Regions from separate parts of the Homo sapiens genome. Here region 2 is linked to region 1. The links are contacts of gene promoters, found by promoter capture Hi-C in human tissues and cell types (Jung and others, 2019). All regions are on one chromosome and are shown on one strand. The core of a region is centred on a gene start or on the middle of the fragment in contact, and the rest is flanking DNA. Distances in the headings are between cores, read along the strand shown.

Region 1 (6,631 bases), core at 356-2,855:
GTTTTTTCTCCAAGAGTTTTGAAGACTGCACGTTCAATATCTCATTTTGTTTGCTTCCCTCTCTTGGCTCCCTCCTACCCACAGGGTGCCACAGCACGCTGTCTTTCCCAGTAGCAAAGGCGCTGTGTCTCAAAAGCTGGCTATCTTATTCATTTCTGAGTCAAACTCTAGACCATGCTTGCCTCTTCAGGCACTTGGCTCTCTCAGCACAAATATAACAGGTCTTTGCACTCCAGGCCCTTGCCAAGAGTGAACTCTGGAGGCCTGAGGCCATGTGGAATCAGGCCTGAAGTGCCCTCCTTTACCCTGTGGCACCAAAGCCTGCTTCAGATGGCTGGGCCACATCCTGCCGGTCTGCCAAGAAGAGCTTGGGGGCACTCTGGCCACAACAGTCAAGCATCCTGGGGGCCTCCTTCCCATTAAGGCCCTCAGGTTTCGCACTTATTTCCCCAGAACTTATCTGTGCCTTCCACAGCCCACATGGCCCCGGGCTGGACTTCCAGGGGCTTTGTTCCCTTCTCAGCTGCGGTTTATTTGTTTACTTTTGAAACACGAAGTGAGGCCAGAGATGGGAAACTTTGAGCTTTTGCATGCTTCTCCACTCGGTCTCCTCACTGGAGAGGGCTGGCAGTGCTCAGAATGGTGCATGCCCCCTGCTCCTCACCGCCACCCATGCTCCAAAGCCAGGATGTGAGTCTTGCAGAGCTGCAGACAGCCCCTAAAGGGTGTGCTCCCAATTTGAGCTCATCTGACCCAGTTAAGGAGCCAGAATGGGAGAAGCATCTGCCACTCATGAGCTCTGGCTGGGGGGCCCCTGCCCTCCCCCTCGCCCCCAGTCCTGATGCCCTTCTGGGCGGCTTCAAGCAGCAGCTGCAAAATGTCAGTGCAAGAGGCAGAAGAACCAGGGCGAGCGTGCAGGCTCCGGGTGATAGAAGCAGAAGGAAAGTCTAGAAGCGCACGGAGCAAGGGGCCACGCGGTGTCGCAGGCAGCGAGGACAGCCCAGGCTCCCAGAGACCGCAGCCGGGTGGAGGCGTCTGCGGGTACCAGGCGACGGGCCAGGGCGCACGGCGAGGCCACCCACCTCTTGATGTAGCTGCTGAGGCGGTAGAGCTGCCCGTCGAGGCGCACGAGGCCGTCACCGAAGACGTTGAAGCCCCCCCGCGCCGCCGCCGGCTCCCCGGGCCTGGCCACCACGAGCTGGTCGCCGCTCAGCTGGAAGGCACCGGGCTGCAGGCGCAGCAGCTGAGCCAGCGGCAGCAGGGCCAGCTCGCAGTCGCAGGTCCACAGGCTGCGAAGCTCCCCAGACGAGATGGAGGTCAGGCTCGGCCTGGCCACCGGCTCGCAGGCCGCCCCCGCCATGCCCGCGTCGTCGGTCCTCACACCGCCTGCTTCCGTCCGGTGCCTACAGCCCCCAGCCGGCACCTGATGGTCCCCAGGAGGGGCCGGGCGCCCTGCCTGCGTCAGCCGCGCGCGAGGTGAGGAGGGGGTCGGTCTGCCCGCCTGGCCGGGACGCGGTGGCCGCTCAGGTGCCAGTCTGACCGCCCGGGCGGCCCCTCCCAAGCTGCCACTCGCTGGGAGCCCTGCAGGCACCGCGCGGAGAAAGCGGCCCCGGCGCAGCGCGGCCCCTTTTATCCGCCCTCTGGACGCCCGCCTCGCCCCTGCCGGCCCACGGCCACGACCCCAGAGGCTCGGGGCAGAGTTATCATCGTCTCATAACTTGGCATGCTCGAGTCTGCTCGCAGGCAAGGCTTAGTCATCCCCCTGGGGTCCACTACTCAACACCAGCGCTGGCCCCCGCCCTGCCTGGCGGACACTGCCGGAGGCTGGAGGTGGGGAGAGTCCTCCCCGGGTTCCCAGGCCCTGCCTATGGTGGGCGGCAGGGCGCACAGCACCCATCCTTGCCTAAGACACCACACCCCTGGTGTTGATTGGAGAAGAAGGCAAGGGCTCTGGCCCTACCCATTCCACCTGGGACCCAGAGGCTGTCAAAGGCCAGTGCTGGAACTCCGATCCCCACCTCAGTACCAGACCTCTCACTCAGCCTCAGTTTTCTGCCATTTTAACTCCATCCAGATCGTACCCTGCATTTCCCTCCTTTCAGCCTTTCCTTCAGCTGGTTGCTGGCCCTGGATCCCTTCCCCCTAGAAATCCCACTGATCATCACATCGCTTTTCCATAAAGCCTTCACGAATCCCACGAGGGTTTCATCGCTTTGCTTCTCCTTTCTACTGCACGGTGAACCCTAGACTGCAATGTGCCGTGTAGTGGGGATAGCAGGGTCCTAGCATCCTCCCTTCTCCCCTGCCTCCCCAGTAGGTGGTGATCTCCTTGAGCCCCAGAATATGTTCATTTCTTCAGTCTATAAATATGTGAGTGCTAGCTATGGGCTCATTGATCTCCTGAGGTATGAAAGGAGAACTATATTATTCCATTTAATTAAACACCTATTTCTGCTGCGGAGAAGCCTGGATGGGATGGGAGGAGAATCTAGCCTAGTTTCGAGGCTTTCTGTAGTACTGTGTTTTAGGATTCTAAGCTACATCCCAAAAGTTGAGTAGAACGTAGAGAATATCCTTAGTTAGTCTTTGTGTGCCCCCACATGAACTCTTGTGTAGGTTTAATCAGATGGGATGAAGAGTCCTCCCGCCACATCTCATTTAAATCTCAGAATATAAATGAGCCCCACTCTCTTCTCTTCTTCTAGGTGCACACCTATCCTTTCTCCAGACATGGATCTTTTACCCATGGGATCATTACCCCATCTCTGGGCCTCTCTGAACAAATCTAATTCACTGAGCATGAATTGATCACTACCCACTCAACCTTTTGTGGCGCAGGAAGGATGCTCTACCTGTGAAAAAAGCATCCAGAAGATCTTCTTGCAAAGGGAGGTTTGAGGATCCCTGCAAAGAGAATGGGTCTGGGGTGGGCTGAGACTGTAGACAGGACTCAGAGGCTGGGGCTGTTTTCACAGGGGAGGGATTTGGTGCCAGCAGTTAAATCCATTGTGCCCTATTTAGAACTTCACTCTTGTCCCAAACATTGACAGAGTCATCACTATGCACCAGGGACCATCTTAAGCTCTGAGGTCACACACACACACACACAAGGATCCAATAAGTGCTACCATAGATGTATGGACTAAGCACTATGAGAAATAAGTGGTTCTGCCCCAAGAAGGGTGCTCAAAGGAGGTGACACATGGCTAGACTTCCAATACACAGGGGAGGCTCCCAGGGGAAGGAGCAGCAGCAATAAGGAGATGGGAGAGAAGATTCTGTACCATTCTATGCAAAGAGAGATGCTATGGTTCCATCTGGGGGAGGGGGGAAATTTTTAAACAGCTAGGGCAGACCATCCTATTTGGGATAAGAGGGGTCAGTTTTATATGAGATGAGACCAGAAAGGGCTGTTGGAGCCAGATTGTGACAGACCCTCTGAGTTGTCAGGAATTTGGATTCTTAAGACAATGAGGAGCCTTGGGATGTTTTAAAGAAAGGAAGTGATATAATTATGCCTCAGTTCAGATAGACACCTTTGGTTATGACCAAAGAAGATGTTTTGAAACAGGAAGATCAGAGGCAGAGAAACCAGTTAGGAGATTGATGTAATAATCCAGATAACATATGATGGGGGTCTGAACAGAAGCAGCTGTGGGAATGGAGATGAGGTTTCAACATTTTTGAGTCAGAGTCAGCAGGAAGGATCTTATGAGTAAATAAATGAAAAAGAGCAGAGAGACCCACTTAGTCTCTTGCTTGGGTACCCAGAGAGATGGTGACACCATTAACGAAGCTAGGGTTCACAGGAGGAAGAGTAGGAGTTTGAGGAGAGATAGTGATGAGTTCAGGGGGGACATACTGATTTTGAGCTACTTATGGAACATCAAGGTAGAAAAGTCCAGGAGGCAAGGAGTTAGTTGGGTCTGGCGTTTTGGAAAGACAAGGTCAATGATTGAGATTTGAAAGTCTCTAGATCAAAGACGGGGTTGAAGCCAAAGAAGTGGATGGGGGCATCTAGCTAATACATGATAGGGTAGGAATTTGAACCCAGGCCTTTAGTTTACTTCAACATATGTTAATTGAGCATCTGCTATGTTCAGTGCTTTGCTGGAGATACAGAGTTGAATAGAGGATGGCCCCTGTCCTCAAATAACAGGGAGAAATGCAGGAATCAGCATGAACTAGTCTTCTGGCACCATGTCCAAACATGTGGCTGAAATCTAGTTATATTTTGCCTGTGTCTCCAACCTGCTGGTGGAATACAACCTCAACAACAATAACAGCTGCAGAAGTTGCTTTCAATTAGTAAGTCAAGGAGGGCAGGTCCACTACAGAGCCCTCACCAGCCCCTACTCTCCCCATTCCACATAGATCGAACTCAACAACTCACCCTATGAGCTTCACATAGATCAAGCTCAACAACTCTTGATTGCCCTTAAACCTACACCACACTGTCTATGAATGATTTGGCTTTCTTGAAGGGTAAAATGTTACATCGGGGTTTTATATCAGAATTATATGCATTTGTTTAAGATAAACATACCAGTCCCTCCTATCAAAAAACCGTTTCCTGGGCAGGCACGGTGGCTCACACCTATAATTCCAGTATTCTGGGAGGCCAAGGCATGTGGATCGCCTGAGGTCAGGAGTTCCAGACCAGCCTGGCCAACATGGTGAAATCCCATCTCTACTAAAAATACAAAAATTAGCTGGGTATGGTGTTGAATGCCTGTAATCCTAGCTACTTGGGAGGCTGAGGCAGGAGAATCGCTTGAACCTGGGAGGCAGAGGTTGCAATGAGCCAAGATCGTGCCATTGCACTCCAGCCTGGGTGACAAGAGTCAAACTCCATCTCAAAAAAAAAAATCCGTTTCCTTCATAGTAAGATATCAACACTTAGATCTGAGTAGAAGAATTAAACGAAATTTTTCTTTACCTCACCACAGTTGTGTGATTTTACACTTTTCCTGTATTTTCCAAATAAATGTGTATTGTTTTATACAGAAAAATGATGTTGAGCATAATAAAAATATTTTAAAGATGCTTTCTTGGTATGTTGTCTAGAGGTTTCATTTGATGCGTTTTCAGCAAAACACCTGCATTTCTTTATGGGTAATTTATGCATTACCAAAATGCCAGAGAAAGATATGAAAAAGTGAACAGAAAAAAAATAGTATTCAATGTAATGTAAGCCATTGCTAATAAGTAGAGAGCTAGAGAGATCTTTTCATGTTTAATGTCTTTTTCATTACCCAAGTACCAGCCAGGCAAACAATCACTCCTGGTGACGACCTTTTCAGTCTTTTTTTGGTTTGCTTACATAGTTGTGTTCCTATCGTAGAATTTTTATTCGGCTTTGTGCATTTAACATTATATGTATATTATGTTGTGAAAATTTCATTTTCTTTGTGAATAGTATTTTAAATCACTATGCTATTTTCCATCAAGTGTATATTCTATTGTTTGTCTAGACATTTCTTTACTCTTGAACACTCAGATTGTTTCTTGTTTTTCCTTATAAACAATGCTGCAATAAACATCTTCATACTTTGATTTCGTTTTTCTGTATCCAAGCTCTCAGAGATGGAATTACTGGGACAAATGATATGAGAATGTGCATTGCTCTGGAAACGTGTGTCATTATTCTCCTAAAGGCTGGCACCAATTTGTCTTCTCACCAGCAGTGATTTTTCATGGTTTTAAATCTTTGCAGTTGGGGTAGGGTACCTCACAGCTATTTACGCTACAAGTGAGATTAACAGTTTAGCTATAATGTTACCACTCAAATTTAGAGACTTTATAGCAAGGCAATCACCCATTGGTGAGTCTGTGGCTATGCTCACAGGTAAAAGACAAGATAAAGATTTTGCCATCCTTATGTGTCCCCATTAAGGTAACTGTGCTATGGGGACATCAGCAGCTCACAGGCTCAGTTTCTCAGCTTTGGGGGTCCAAAGTTCATATTCAGAAATTTGATTCAACCTTACCAAATTCACAAAAGATTAAAAATCAATTAGGCACCACCACTGCCACCATTTTTGGATTTTTCTGTCAGCATACAAACATCTACAGGTTTCTTTTGTCTTAAAAAAAATAACTTTTTAAACATTTTAACATCTCACTTTCCCTTTTAGTACATTTCCATCTCTCTTCTTCACTCTATGGTCAAACTCCCTGAAAAAATTCTCTAAATTCCTTGCCTGACATTTACTCCTCAAGACTTTATACCTTGACTTCTGCCCATCACACCTCCTGAAACTGACCAAGTCTCCAATGACCTCCTTGTTACTAAACCTCATAAACACTTTCTGTTTTGATCTCACTAGACTACACTTGTCCCTGCAGTTCTCTCTTCCCTTAGCTTGTGAAGAACTTGCACAATGTAGTGAAAGGTGCAAAGGGTTTAGAGTTGAAAAATCTAACTCTAACATTTGCTAACCATGTCATCTTGAGCAAGTTTCCTAAACTCTCCTGTCGTTCATTTTCTCATTTTTAAAATTAGGGTAATAGAGGGAGAGGCAGGATAGCAACACCGTTAAGAGCTCAGACTTTGGTACCTTGTCACCTGGGTTGGAATCTTGAATCTAGCCTGCAGTCTTGAACACATTACTCCTATGTGTTTCAGTTT
Region 2 (7,582 bases), core at 1,221-3,720, 230 kb after region 1:
GGCGGTGATAGTTGCATAACAATGTGAATGTACTTAGTGCCACTGAACAGTGCGCCTAAAAAAATTGGCCGGGCACGGTGGCTCACGCCTGTAATGTCATCCCAGCACTTTGGGAGGCGGAGGCGGGCGGATCACGAGGTCAGGAGTACCAGACCAGCCTGGCCAGCATGGCGAAACCCCGCCTCTACTAAAAATACAAAAGTTAGCTGGGCGTGGTGGCAGGCGCCTGTATTCCCAGCTACTCGGGAGGCTGAGGCAGGAATCGCTTGAACCCGGGAGGCGGAGGTTGCAGTGAGCCGAGATCGCGCCATTGCACTCCAGCAACAGGGCAAGACTCCATCTCAAAAAAAAAAAAAAAAAAAAAAAAAAAAAATTCAGAAGTCAGGGAAAGGGAGAAGCCTTCAATGGCCATTTCAAACTGAAAGGCTATCTTAATTGCCAGTCCCTCTATAAGGCTTTTTTGATGTCCCCTAAACTATGCAATCTCAACAGAGGCCATATGCCTCAAAATGGGGTGCAAATTGGTTCTTAGAAGGTGGCAAAAATCATATTCTTTTTATGTACGAAGCACAGATATACATACAGTCTACATTGATACACAGCCTATCTATGTTCGTTGCATTTTACGGGGTGAGAGGTGATGAGATGAAAAACTGTCTAAGGAGAAGGGGCAATAGCGGCAACCCAGAAAAAGGGTTAGGTCCCTTAAGTTTGGGACCTAAGCGCACGTGACTCTCCATCCTTTAAACCTGTACAGCACGTGGTTCTTCCCTCCAAGCGTGTCGTATTCTCTCCGTGCGACCTATTCCCCTTGGCAGGTTCTCCCCTGGGTCCCTGGTTACTGGTGGCGCGCCCGGCCGGCACGGTCCCCGCCGCAGAGCACGCATGGCGCGCAGCCATTGCTGAGAGGATCTTTCCTACCCCGAGTCCGGGCCGACTGCGGACCACTGGCCGCTGCCGCCACGAGGGGCGCGCTTCGTCCCCAGAGAAGCCCGGAGTCACGCGGCCTCGCCCGCCCCCTCCCGCGCGCCGGGGCACAGCCTCTCCCCCCGCGGCGGCCGCTGGGCACCTCGGCCGCTTCCGCTGCCTCCTCGGCGCGCCCCGCGACTTCTCAGCCCGTGCCTGGGGTGGCAACGCCTGGGGTGGCGACGCCCAGGGTGGCTAGAGCGGCTGCCGGCGCCGCGGAAATCTGTACACACCGCAGCGCGGCCTGAGTAACTGGGTCTCTGTGGCGCAATCGGTTAGCGCGTTCGGCTGTTAACCGAAAGGTTGGTGGTTCGAGCCCACCCAGGGACGGTCAGTGCTTCTTTTCCCGAGACAACATTTACCCGATGGTTCATTTTAATAATGAGATTTTTAATCGAATAGGAGCATGATGCTACAACGTTTCTAGGACATGGACAGACAATATCCTCTTAATGTGTGGTGCCTAGTGGCTGGGCCCAAGGGAGAGACTGTGTCTGCACTGGAAGCCATGGTTTGGCAATTCTATTCCTACTACTTATCCAAGGGAAACTTGCACGTGTGCTTCAAGACACCTTCCCAACAATGCTCACAAACGGCAGTGGTAATAGCAAAACAGCAACTCAATTGCCCATTGACTGGTGAATTTATAAATTCCATTGGTGTTTCTCAGAAAAATCTGGCACCACCAAAAAGCAAATGTAGTTATTTAAGATTGTCTTCTTTGCTTCCAAAAGCATGAGCAGCCTTCCAGATGAAAACGTGTAGAGGAGTCATTATAAGCATATGGAAGCTTACCATCTTAAGAAACTATTTATTCAGTTAAGTTCTGTTACAGCTTTTGGACAACGGACTTGAATCTAGGGAAAAATGTTAATGTTTACCTTAGATTGCTGACAGAATTAACCCTGAAATTAAACTCCAGCAGAAATTGTGCGGGTTCCTGTTACAAGTTCTTGAATAACATATTTTCAACTCTGGTCTAACAGAGGACACATATTTTTCAAGCAGAATATTCACATAAGACTTTAAAGATAGAAAAACACATGATAATATGATAACATGATGATATAATTTATTTCTACCAAGATTCAGGTCCTATGGTAGGTGCTTTATCTCTGGGATCTACTTACCTCCAACAGAACTTAGAAGCCTGGAAGAAGGAGTAGTTAATAGAGTCACTAGGCTATCTTTAAAGGAATGCCTTGGCAAATGTTTGCTGATAGTTATCAATCAAATAATTGTCGATAACACAATACCCTCTGTTGTTTAGTTAGTAGCCCTGGAGAAGGAGACACAACGTCGTACTTACGGTGGAATTCCAGGCAACAGAACAAGTAGCTCTCAAAAATTTTCTTAGAGGCCGGGCGCAGTGGCTCACACCTGTAATCCCAGCACTTTGGGAGGCCAAGGTGGGCAGATCATGGGGTCAGGAGTTCAAGACCAGCCTGGCTAACATAGTGAAATCCTGCCTTTATTAAAAATATAAAAATTAACTAGGCATGATGGTGCACACCTGTAGTCCCAGCTACTCAGGAGGCTGAGGCAGGAGAATCACTTGAACCTGAGAGGTGGAGGTTGCAGTAAGCTGAGATCGTGCCACTGCACTCCAGCCTGGGTGACAGAGCAAGGCTCCTTCTCAGAAAAAAAAAAAAAAAAAAAAATGTTCTTAGGTAGGAATCTTTCCGATGCCCATCAAATTCCAAACGTCCTGTCTACACTTCTGGGTAGCTTATAGTAGAAACCACAAAATGAGGGGAAATTAGATCATAAGATAATTTATATACTGTTCAAACCTAGTCTTACATTTCAAGATGCAGGGCATATATTTGCTATCACTACAATTACAGGGACTTAGAAAACATGCCCTTGGAAAACATGCCCTTCCACTTTGAAGCTGAATATATTACCCTAGGCGAGAGCAGAGATCATTTTCTGTTATCAATGATCATTTTTAGGCTCCAAGGGATTTCCTTCAAGATACACTTCAAATTTTTTGTTGTTGTTGTTGTTTTCAGATGGAGTCTTGCACTGTTGCCCAGGCTGGAGTGCAGTGGCACAGTCTCCGCCCACTGCAAGCTCCGCCTCCCGGGTTCATGCCATTCTCCTGCCTCAGCTCCCTGAGTAGCTGGGACTACGGGCGCCCGCCACCACGCCCCGCTAATTTTTTGTACTTTTTTTTTAGTAGAGACGGGGTTTCACCATGTTAGCCAGGATGGTCTCGATCTCCTGACCTCGTGATCCGCCCGCCTTGGCCTCCCAAAGTGCTGGGATTTCAGGCGTGAGCCACCGCTCCCGGCCTCAAATTCTTGAGCTTAGCAAAAGGGCTTCTATAGTCCATACCCTAGTCTCCTACCATGTTCCTTCATGAAAGCTTCACACAGTTACATGCAGTTACCAAGGGTTCCCTGAGTTACCCATGCAGACTTACACGCCCCACCTAGATCCTCTCCCTGCTCTGCCCTTCTCCACCTCCACCCCACTTAGCTGGGAGACATCCGCTGAGGCATCACCTTCTCAGGGAACCTCCCCTGATGCTGCTTCGATCTAATATAGACACCCCTTCTCCCAGCAGTCACCACAACCCCCGGAAACAGTGAGTTGCTTGTCACCTCCACTGAGATATGAACTCCTTGGGAGTAGGGACCAGTTCTTCATTCCCAGTGCTTGCCCCTCTAGCACAGACCTGTCCCCTAGCACATGTTCAGTGCAGAGGCACTCTCTGCCTTCTCAGGGTATGGTTCACAGATGGACAACCAGATAAAAATGCATCTGATGGAGTGTCAGCAAGTCAGCCAAAGAAAAATGTTCCCAGGCCACGAAGTAAGTGGCCAACATAGACTGGGGCTGTGAGCCTTCATTGAGGATTTGAAACAACCCTGAGAGATGTGGGCAGGCAGGTGAGAGGCATTTAAGGCCAAGGAAAATTCCAGACAAAACGAGAGCGAGGGTAAGAAATGAACATAACCAGTACATAGGACAAGTGTACTTCAAGAAGGTGCAGGGGAAATGTTCTTAGCTCCTGGAAGGTCCTTGAATACCTAGGATGTGGCTAACTTTACCCCGTAAGGGAAGGGAGTAACTTATTAGAGATTTCTGTTTCAGGGTAGAATGAAATCTATTTTAGGTGATTAGTGTGGCAGCAATGTAGGGGAAATAGTAGATCAGAGACTAGTTAGGAGGAAATTATATTTCAAACGAGGCACAACGAGGTTCTGGGTTCAAATAGGCCTGGAGAAGGCAGCATGGGTGCAATTCAAGGGAAAATTGGGCAAGTGTTGGGGACTGCAGCAGTGGGGAAGTGTCTATGGTGATGCCTACATTTAGAACCTGGCTGATGCTACTAATAGGAATTCAAAATCTGAAAGGGTCTTAAAGAAACCTAGGAATAAATATTACAAATTGTCCAAACTCTTAGCTTACTTTACATGTGGCTGATTCCCCACCATGGAGTTGCTCTGGAACCTAGAACCTAATTTCAGAAACAATCTTTGGCTTTGGGTTTTTTGGGGTTTTTTTGTTTTTTTTTTGTTTGTTTGTTTTTGCATAAGAAAGCATCTTTCATTGGATTTTGTTTTTCAGTTAAATTTCATTTTAGGTTTAAGTTAAACTTCATTTATTGAAGTCAAACTTCCCAAGAGACTACCTTATGGATACATGGAGCCCTGTGAAAATCCAAATGACAGCCTAAAGACCCTCTCCCTAAAATATCCATATTTAGAGATGAGATTTTGTCCAGTGTCCAAGAGAGTCACAGGCCCTCTAAAACAGAGTTCTTGGCCCCCAGGTTTTGAAGACCTGGCTTTTACTTTATTTATTGGATTTACATTCTAACTACTGATAAAGGCCACAAAGCATGTCAAATCCGAAGTGTTTAGGTACAGAAAAATTACTAAACTGGAGACTTTAAGGTAACACAAAAATAAAAAACCAGAATAGTTTAATACTATTGACAAGTCACAAAGAGAAACAAGTTTGATTTTTTTTGGCTTAGTAATTAAGTAGGTCTATAAAATTAATAATAAAGGACTTGAGACAAAAAAAAAAAAAAAAAGCTGCCTTGAGGTTTTAACACTTAATGCTTTATTGTTGCAATCTGGAATGACCAGCTGGGAGGGGCTTTAATATATTGATCCTTTCAGGGTCATCACTTCTGCGGAGATTTACTCCATCAGCAGATACCAATTTGCATTTTTTCCCTTGTGAGTTACTTTAATGACACCCAGCAAATTGCGATATTTTAGTTACCTCTCTTAGAAATGGAGCCATTTTTCACCATGCTTTTTTAGTAAAAACAAAACAACAAAATTATTTTCTGTCAAAGATAAGAAACTAGTTATTCCCAAACAGGTATATCAAATGCACACTTCAAAATAAGGAGATTCTGAATTACCTTAGCAATAAACTTGAGTACATTATTGTATGTGTGAATATGAACATAATGATCATTTATACTTCATTGAATGATATATTCACTTATACTTGAGTATAGGTCTGATCATTGGAATTCATTGTAATAAATATCACATAGGGCCGAGCATGATGGCTCACACCTATAATCCCAGCACTTTGGGAGGCCGAGGCGGGCGGATTGCCTGAGCTCAGAAATTCAAGACCAGCCTGAGCAACACGGTGAAACCCCATCTCTACTAAAATACAAAAAATTAGCCGGGCGTGGTGGCATGCACCTGTAGTCCCAGCTACTAGGGAGGCTGAGGCAGAAGAATTGCTTGAGCCCAAGAGGCAGAGGCTGCAATGAGCCAAGATCGCGCCACTGCACTCCAGCCTGGGCGACAAAGCGAGACTCCGGCTCTGAATAAATAAAAAAATAACACATACGTGAAAATCTGCCATGGATAAGAGCCAATATACAACTGAAGTTTAAAATATAGAATTTCTCTATTAATTACCAAGCACAGGGATTCTTTACACCACAAGCGCCACAGCCAATGGGACACCAGTTTACAACCGCAAACATTTTGCTATCCTGCTAAACAGGGCTGGTTTATATTGCCTTAAGGCCGAGGGGAGCATTCACTCTGAGGTGAGTTGTGGAGATACTTGAACCTCCTCAGCATATTTAGATAATATCAGCCTCCCAGCCCAGTGAAAAGGCTTGTAAGAAAGAGAAAGCTGGCAAGAAGGGTACTTTACCAAGCTTTTACGTACCTGCACTAACTAAACAGGAAATGCATGTTCGTTTTCGGATTTGAAGTATTTCATAGGGTTCCTTTTCTCCCTATAAGCTCTGGCTTCTGTGTTAATCTACTGATTATTTTGAACTTCTCCAATACTAGATTTATCGTCACTGCAGTGCTTTGCTATCCTGCAAATATTAGTAAGTGCCTTTTCATGGATGTGCCGTGCTTAGAAGCATCCTGAGGCGCCTTTCAGCCACCTTTGCTTCTTCCATGGTTCCTTGAGGGAACACTGGCTGGGGAATTAGGGATGTGAACCTACTGGTGTTTTTGAAAAGCTGTCAAAATAGCAAAATTCCAACAAATCGAGTGTAATAATTTAATTGGCTTTTACTAGCGATACATGAGTCGGGCAGCATCCCATCTATAAATAGAAGGGTACTTCAATGAGCTGAGCAGAGGAGATAGGTTTTACAGGCAGAAATAGACCAAAGAAAGCAGAAACCAAGAATGAAAGCAGATTGGTCATTTCAAAGTTTCTTTCCTTGTAGGATTAAAGCAGAAGAGCCTCATCATGCTGGCTCAGGTTGACCGGGCCTCTTCTAATTGGTTGCTGTGAATCTTTTGCTTTTTTTGAAAAACCGACCTGTTTCAAAGTTCAGTTTGAGTACACAGCACCTAGGACAAGTGAAGCCATTCAGGTTTGGTCTGTTCTTTGGGCCTAGGGCAGGAGCTTAGGCCAAAACAATGGTCTCTTTAAATTTTACTCAATACAGCTAAAAGGGCCGGAGAAACAGTCACAAATATGTTCACTGAGCAGGCCTGTTCAGAGCCCACGAACCATACCTAGGTGACTCTTTAAGTGTGGCAGGGGTGCCCAAACAGGCTTTGCCCCTGAAAACAGCTCAGAATTTAGTCATTAGTTTAATGTCACTTTGGGATGCTTTCTTTAATCCACCAGATTTTTTCCGCCTCTTCTACCATGAACTCCCAAAGCATCCTCTTCCTCCAATGCCATAAGTCATGTCTTTTGGCCCTACCGCCTCTGACTACAGTCTTTGGGACTACAGCCGTTGACTCTAAGCTTGAAGAGGCTGTTCCATTTTGTGTTCTTTTCATCTATAGTATCCAGCAAAACTCTCTAATCAATTGTATCTTTCACTTTTCTTACTCTTTTCCTGACTTACACAGTGCATGATCGTGAAATGGTAGGTGGATGAGAGACTGGCTAAAACTTCATAGACCTTCCTCCTGGTCTTTTTTCTTCTGAAAAATTGGCATTAAATCTTTGTAATTTACACTTTTAATGTGGCGTTCAATAATGTTTCACTGAAAACTTTTCCCTGATAATTTCAATGTACTGTGGGAATTAAATGTAATAACAAATAATATGTGTTGGCCGGGTGTGGCCGGGTGTAGCGGCTCACACCTGTAATCCCAGCACTTTGAGACGCCAAGGTGGGCAGATTGCTTGAGCCCAG

What was found. Contacts are between HindIII fragments. The study calls those that stand out against the background at their distance.
Region 2: a fragment that was not itself captured here is called in contact with the fragment with the promoter of MEDAG in region 1 in 3 of the 25 tissues and cell types used here (aorta, hippocampus and mesenchymal stem cells).

The regions. Positions count from the first base shown.
Region 1 is chr13:30,901,245-30,907,875 of GRCh38, reverse strand. MEDAG (mesenteric estrogen dependent adipogenesis) reads right to left here and starts at 1,605. Exons shown (of 5, transcript NM_032849.4): 1 at 1,083-1,605. The coding sequence starts at 1,360. All of the region lies in intron 2 of TEX26-AS1 (TEX26 antisense RNA 1), which reads left to right. RefSeq lists an enhancer at 503-1,004. The HindIII fragment of the contact is 12,319 bases long and covers 1-6,631 here.
Region 2 is chr13:30,667,678-30,675,259 of GRCh38, reverse strand. It overlaps TRN-GTT2-4 (tRNA-Asn (anticodon GTT) 2-4), which reads left to right and starts at 1,223; the gene lies at 1,223-1,296. RefSeq lists a silencer at 864-1,373. The HindIII fragment of the contact is 4,519 bases long and covers 211-4,729 here.